2 separate regions of the Homo sapiens genome follow, and region 2 is linked to region 1. The links are contacts of gene promoters, found by promoter capture Hi-C in blood cells and fetal thymus (Javierre and others, 2016). All regions are on one chromosome and are shown on one strand. Each heading gives the region's core, a stretch centred on a gene start or on the middle of the fragment in contact. The rest is flanking DNA. Distances are from core to core; before and after follow the strand shown. Region 1 holds the start of CFLAR (CASP8 and FADD like apoptosis regulator). Region 2 holds the start of TYW5 (tRNA-yW synthesizing protein 5).

The links. The method cuts DNA at HindIII sites, captures the fragments that hold promoters and counts their contacts. A CHiCAGO score of 5 or more calls a contact.
Region 2: a contact is called between the fragment with the promoter of TYW5 here and the fragment with the promoter of CFLAR in region 1, in 1 of 17 cell types (fetal thymus). The highest score is 6.8, in fetal thymus.

The regions. Positions count from the first base shown.
Region 1 is chr2:201,113,880-201,117,509 of GRCh38, forward strand. It overlaps CFLAR (CASP8 and FADD like apoptosis regulator), which reads left to right and starts at 2,285. Exons shown (of 10, transcript NM_003879.7): 1 at 2,285-2,602. LOC105373836 (a long non-coding RNA gene) reads right to left here and starts at 2,805. Exons shown (of 3, transcript XR_923785.3): 1 at 1,065-2,805. RefSeq lists an enhancer at 2,271-2,530 and a silencer at 2,561-2,770. The HindIII fragment of the contact is 6,122 bases long and covers 1-3,320 here.
Region 2 is chr2:199,953,322-199,956,918 of GRCh38, forward strand. TYW5 (tRNA-yW synthesizing protein 5) reads right to left here and starts at 2,170. Exons shown (of 8, transcript NM_001039693.3): 1 at 2,072-2,170. The coding sequence starts at 2,149. MAIP1 (matrix AAA peptidase interacting protein 1) reads left to right here and starts at 2,261. Exons shown (of 5, transcript NM_001394955.1): 1 at 2,261-2,927. The coding sequence starts at 2,478. RefSeq lists enhancers at 1,814-3,013, 2,124-2,243, 2,414-2,573, 2,594-2,693. The HindIII fragment of the contact is 7,808 bases long and covers 1-3,085 here.

The DNA.
Region 1 (3,630 bases), core at 1,035-3,534:
AGAGCAGCAGTGGTCATGCCTGTAATCCCAGTGCTTTGGAAGACCTAGGCAGGAAGATCACTTGAGGCAAGTTCAAAACCAGCCTGGGCAACATAGCAAGACTCCCTGCCACCCACGACCCCCGCTTCTACTAGATATATATATATATATATATATATATATATATATTTTTTTTTTTTTTTTTTTTTTTTTTTTTTTTGAGATGGAGTCTTACTCTGTCTCCCAGGCTAGAGTGCACTGGCATAATCTAGGCTCACTGCAACCTCCGCCTCCCGGGTTCAAGCAATTCTCTGCCTTAGCCTCCTGAGTAGCTGGGATTACAGGCGCCCGCCATCACACCCAGTTAATTTTTTGTATTTTTAGTAGAGATGGGGTTTCACTATCTGGGCCAGGCTGGTCTTGAACTCCTGACCTCGTGATCCACCCGCCTCAGCCTCCCAAAGTGCTGGGATTACAGGCATAAGCCATTGCGCCGGGCCACAAATTTTTTTTTAAAGAATTAGCTGGGCATGGTGGCACCTGTAGTGGCACACCTAGCATGGTGGCATGCTAGGACCTGTAGTCCTAGCTACTCAGGAGGCTGAGGCAGAAGGATCACTTGAACCTGGGAGGTTAAGGCTGCAGTGAGCTGTGATCGGGTCACTGCACTCCAGCCTGGAGTGAGACCCTGTCTCAAAAACAAACAAAAAACCAAACTTGGATAACTGACAGAGTTTAGGATAGAATTACATGGAAAAACCAACAAAACAAGACAATTATTAACTCCAGAAAAAACTAAAAGTTGTGTGGGAAAGGAAAAGTAATCATAGTTTGGTACATAACTTGGCTGTGACTACCGTTTACATGATTATAATAGCATATATACTGAAGATTAATCAAACAGAATATAACTATCTTGGGAAGATGGAGAGATTAAAAAAAAAGGTTGGGGGTGAATATGGGGTGAAAGTGATGGAGAAAAAGAGCTGAAGTCTCCTCTGGTGTCTCAGCACTCCACCCAAGGTAGAGCCTCTGGATGGAAGAAGGAATCTCCCACCTCTCCACCACACTCCCCCAGGATTTACCTTCAGCATCAGGTAGCTAGGGGCAAGATGAGAAATGCTGATATGCTGGTCTCTGACTGGGAGCTGTGGGAAGAGAGAGGTTCTGAGTTGCAGCAGTCTGGAGTGGAGTCTCTTGCTGAACAAAGGGAGAGGTTTGGTTTAAATACCACAGACTGACTCTCACATTCTGATCCAAGAGTTTTCATAGATTTTTTGGAACAGATGTTTCTTCATTTGCTGTTTGCCCTTAGGACCATTTCAAAGGCTTTAAATGGTTAATGGTTGTTTGTTGTTTTAAATAATTTTCAGTTTCACTAGGGGTGAATCCCGAGCTCTTCATGCCGTCCTGCTGTTAGTCTCTCTTGGTATTATTCTTCACCTTTCCTGTGAGTTTAAAATTATCTCAAGAAAAGTTAAAGCTCTTTAAGAATCACAATAAAGTAGTTATTAGGAATAAATAAAAACGTAGAGGGGCGCGGTGGCTCACGCCTGTGATCCCAGCACTTTGGGAGGCCGAGGCGGGCAAGGATCACTTGAGGCCAGCAGTTGGAGACCAGCCTTGCCAACATGGTGAAACCCCATCTCTACTAAAAATACAAAAAAAAAAAAAAATTAGTCGGGCATGGTGGCTTGCACCTGTGGTCCCCGCTACTTGGGAGGCTGAGGGCTGGATGGTTTGAGAGCGGGAAATCCAGGCTGCAGTGAGCTGTGATGGCGCCACTGCCTTCTAGCCTGGGCGACAGCGCGAGACCCTGTCTCAAGAAGGAAAACAAAAAAAAACAAACAAAAACATACACACAAAAAACCACAAAGTGTGTTCACGTTTGCTATGACTCCCAGACAACAATTGTAAACACTCGCGCCGGGCGTGGTGGCTCACGCCTGTAATCCCAGCACTTTGGGAGGCCGAGGCGGGCGGATCACGAGGTCAAGAGTTCGAGACCATTCTGGCCAACAGTGAAACCCCGTCTCTACTAAACACAAAAATTAGGCGGGCGTGCTGGCGCGTGCCTGTAGTCCCAGCTACTCGGGAGGCTGAGGCAAGAGAATCGCTTGAACTAGGAAGGCGGAGGTTGCAGTGAGCTGAAATTGCGCCACTGCACTCCAGCCTGGGCCACAGAGCGAGACTCTGTCTCAAAAAAGAAGGAAAGAAAGAAAGAAAAAAAAAAACACTCGCAGTGTTTACTCCTAACGCGTGGAACTTGTGTCGACATCCACCCCCGGTTACTGCATACTCAGTCACACAAGCCATAGCAGGAAACAGCGAGCTTGCAGCCTCACCGACGAGTCTCAACTAAAAGGGACTCCCGGAGCTAGGGGTGGGGACTCGGCCTCACACAGTGAGTGCCGGCTATTGGACTTTTGTCCAGTGACAGCTGAGACAACAAGGACCACGGGAGGAGGTGTAGGAGAGAAGCGCCGCGAACAGCGATCGCCCAGCACCAAGTCCGCTTCCAGGCTTTCGGTTTCTTTGCCTCCATCTTGGGTGCGCCTTCCCGGCGTCTAGGGGAGCGAAGGCTGAGGTGGCAGCGGCAGGAGAGTCCGGCCGCGACAGGACGGTACGTGCCCCGCGCTCGACCCCCGCGCTGGCGGCGCCGGAGCTGTCCCAGACCCCAAGCCCCGACGCCCGGCCCTGAGTCAGCATTGCAGCAGGCCCTGCGCCGCCGCGCCCCGCGTCCCACCCCGCGCCGCTCCTCACAGCCCTGCGCTCCGGGAAACTGCAGGTGGCCGGCAGTGGCCAGGGGATGGCGGGGGCGCTTCTGGAACCTGACTCAGTTTTGTAGGTTCCTTATCTCGGTTGTTTACCGCGGGCTTTGCGGAATGCCCCCGCTTCCGTTTCCGCCCGGCTCCGAACCCCCGAACCCCTTCTACCCGCAACTCCGCCCCGGATTCCCAGAAAGGGGCGACCTGGGCCACAGCGGTACAAGCTGCACCCCGATGGACCTGAGAGACCGGAAGTAACCCTTGGCCAACTCTGGCCGCCCCCTGCAGCCGCAGCCCCAGAGGCCCACCCGCGAGCTTCAGTGGCGGGCCCTCAGCGTCGTGTAAACTTTGCTTAAAATGATCTTGAGAGTTCAATTCTTGGGGTGAACTGTTGAGAAGATCTGGCATTTTTCCTTTCGAAAGTTGTTGGGAACGTGGACTTTCCCAACAATTGTGTATGCGCTCGATCTCACTCAGTGGGAGCCGCCGCCCTGGAGGGAATTTCACAATAGCCTGGTCAGGGCGGTTATTTTCCAGAGCAGTTTAATGTCTATTTTGCCCAAGTGCAAGGAAAGCTTGCCTTGGGAAAGCTGGGAATGCTTGGCTAATGAAAAGTTTTTAGAGCCTTTTAAAATGAACCTGTTTCTGCCACTTTTCCACCGCCTCAAAACGACTGGGAAATGTAAACTGGCTTCAAGATGTTCTTGCTTGAGGGTGTCTGGATTTGGACAGAAGGCCATGTTCTTTTAATATTAACAGTGGCACGCAGTAGAACAAAGGCCACTGAAATTCAGAATCAGTTTTTGGCTCCACGGGCAGGAAGTAAATTCAAGGACGCCAGAGGTCTTGCGAATATTTTAATTGGTTGACATTTGAAATTTGT
Region 2 (3,597 bases), core at 920-3,419, 1.2 Mb before region 1:
TCAAAAAAAAAGAAAAAGAAAATGATGTGCCAATGTAGGTTTATCAATTGTAACAAATATACCACTCTAATGAGGGGATGTTGATCATGGAGGAGGCTATCCATGTGTCAGGGCAGAAAGGACATGAGAAATCTCTGTACCTTTGGTCAATTGTGCTGTGAACCTATAAAGCCTCGAAAAAACAGTCTATTTTTTAAAAAGTCATTTTGTGCCTTATTGATTTTTGAAATGTCATGCTTATTATACACTAAATTTCCATAGGAATAGGTATTTCTGCACTTTCTATTCTATTCCCTTGGTCTATCTATTCATGTACCTGTACAATATACAGTGTTAATTATGGAGTTATTAGAAAATGTTTAACAAAAAACTCATAGCACTATGCCCCCTCATACTTTTTAGTGTTTCCAGATAGAAAGGTCTTTTTTTCCAATTTTGTTATTAATTTCTAGTTTTACTGCCCATGGCCAGAGAAAGTTGTTTGTAATTTTCGACTTTTTAAAATGTAATGATGCTTTGTGCTGTATGTCTTGTCTGAAGAGATTAAATTACAAAATACCTTTTGCTATGACTCTTACAAAGCACTTCCACATACCCTAATCTTCACAACACTGCCCTTTAGGCAACTTACGTCTAGCACATTCTGAGATAGGGGGTGTCTAAGGACAGGGAGAGCAAGAACAACCCATCTAGTACAAGTCTCCAAACTAATAAAGGCTTGAATCCTCTCCCGTAGGTTGCTATCAAAAGAAAAACTTCATTCCTCCCGCATCCCCCCAACCCCGCCTTTTTTTTTTTTAAGCTAGGGTCTCACCCTCTCGCCCATGCTGGAGCAGTGGCAGGATCATGGATCACTGCAGCCTCGACCTCCCGGGCTCAAGCAGATCCTCCGACCTCAGCCTCCAGAGTAGCTGGGAATACAGGCGTGCGCCACCACGCCCGGCTAATTTTTGTATTTTTTGTACAGACGGGGATTCACCATATTGGCCAGGCTGGTCTTGAACTCCTGACCTCAAGTGATCCACCGACCTGGGCCTCCCAAAATGTTAGGATTACTGGCATGAACCACGGCGCCCAGCCCATCCGACTTTTGTAACACTCAGAATTGTAGTTTTGTTTGTTTGTTTGAGACCGAGTTTAGCTCTTGTTGCCCAGGCTGGAGTGCAGTGGCGCGATCTCGGCTCACTGCAACCTCCGCCTCCCGGGTTCAAGCGATTCTCCTGCCTCAGCCTCCCGAGTAGCTGGGATTACAGGTATGGGCCACCACCATGCCCGGCTAATTTTGTATTTTTAGTAGAGATGGGATTTCTACTGGCTGGTCTTGAACTCCTGACCTCCGGTGATCCGTCCGCCTCGGCCTCGCAAAGTGCTGGGATTACAGGCGTGAGCCACCGCGCCCGGCCCCAGAACTGTAATTCTATGACCACCCTTATAAATGTAAATATCAGGTAAGAAAATTGCTGGGTATTTTTCCTACCATAAACTGACTTACTGTAATCCTGTGGATTTTTCCTTTTAATACCTTGTTTTTCTTAGGTCTGGACTCCCTTGAAAAGCACTGCAAGTAAAAGCACTTTTTGTTTCCCTAATATTTCTCTATGAGTTTTCTTTTAAAGACCTAAGGTTCTAACTACAGGTATAAAAGACTCCAATGTCGGAACTAGAACCTAAGTAAGTTAGAATTCAAGACGAGTAGGAGTTTTCCGGGGGAATCCCATTGCTTTCCTTTTTGGCTCAGTGGAGTGAAAAGTTGTGCCTTCAAATCCATTAATTCGGAGCAGACTGACAGATGCGGAGTAAAGAGTTTAGGCAAAATACCTCTCGCACTCAGCTCTCCGCCATCATCTTGCTCCCCAGAAACATGGGACTTTCTCCGGAAATTTCAATAGAGGAGCCAGTCGGCGTCCCCCGTGCACCTTTCCCTTGGTCTAAGGGCCAACCAGTGATCTGCTGCCGTCCTGCGCCTCTTTCCCACACCCTGGGTCTCTAAAAACCAGTTCCCAGCTGTCCGAAAGGTAAAGACGTGTCTCTCGCTGGTTTCTCGAGGTTCTGCCCCGCGCGAGGGCCTCACCTGTGGGTAGAGGTGCTGCATGAACTGCTCCCGAGAAACGCCCTCCAGCCGGGGTACCGGGAGGTGCTGCCCGGCCATGGTTGCTCACGCCTGCCCTCTTCCAGGTCTTCGGAACTTCGGCTCTAAAGCGTTCCTCAGCGCCATCCGCCCGGAAACACGAGCGACAGAGAAAAGGTCCGCGAGGCCGGCAGACTCCAGAGTGGCTGGGTCCGAGCGCGGGGCGGGTTGCCGAAGGGCCTCGGCCTGGGCTGCGTGCTGGAGAGCGGGGACGGGGCCGACTCACCAGAGGCTGCAGCAACAGGTCCACTTTGCTCTCCAGTCTCTTTCTCCGACACCGCTGAGGCGGTTTCCCACCGACTTCCTTTCCATACAGCACCGGCAGGCACCGGTGTGAAGGGTCATAAAAATGGCGCTGGCCGCTCGTTTGCTACCCCAGTTCCTGCACTCTCGGTCGCTGCCCTGCGGGGCCGTCCGACTCCGGACTCCTGCTGTGGCCGAGGTGAGGCTGCCGTCGGCCACACTTTGCTACTTCTGCCGCTGTCGCCTCGGCTTGGGAGCGGCGTTATTTCCACGAAGCGCTAGGGCCTTGGCAGCCTCGGCGCTACCTGCCCAGGGCTCCCGGTGGCCAGTGCTCAGCAGCCCGGGACTCCCCGCAGCCTTCGCTTCTTTCCCTGCCTGCCCTCAGCGCAGCTACAGCACGGAGGAGAAGCCCCAGCAGCACCAGAAAACCAAGATGATCGTCCTGGGATTCTCCAACCCCATCAACTGGGTTAGGACTCGAATTAAGGCCTTCCTTATCTGGGCCTATTTCGACAAAGAGTTCAGCATCACAGAGTTCTCCGAGGGAGCGAAGCAGGTTTGTTTATTTCCCTGATTGACCTATCCGTCTCTAATGAGTTCAACTATTGCTCGCAGAAGTGCTTAGCAGTGAGTTTTCTTCACTGGGATACAAGTGATCAAACGTGATTAGTGGCCCAGACATAGAGCCTTCCAGCCATTGCTTGACTTAAAGTAAGCTTCTGGGCCGGGAATGGTGGTACACGCCTGTAGTCTCAGCTACTTGGGAGGCTGAAGGGGAGGATCGCTTGAACCCAGGAGTTGGACGTTGTAGTGAGCTGTGATCGTGCCATTGCACTCCAGCCTGGGATACAGAGCCAGGCCCTGTCTCAGAAAGAAAAAGCTATATGGCTCATCTTGTCTGAACATAATTTTCAAATTTACAAAGTGGGCAAGACAATGCCTGGCACATAGTAGGCACTCCATGAATGTTTGCTGAATACATTAATAAATGGGTAAGATTGAAGAATAATTGAGATAACATTTCCAAAGTGCTGTAATGTCACCTTGGGTAGAAGAGCAGAACTTCCTGCCAGCTATTAGACAGAGCCGACCAATACACCACCCCATACTCCGTAAAGATTAAACTGGAGATGAGCAATTTTACCCTTTCAAAGGATTTGCTGAGACTGCCTGGTGGCTAAGTGCACAGCACCCTGCACACAGAAAATATTTAGCCTTTAGAGATT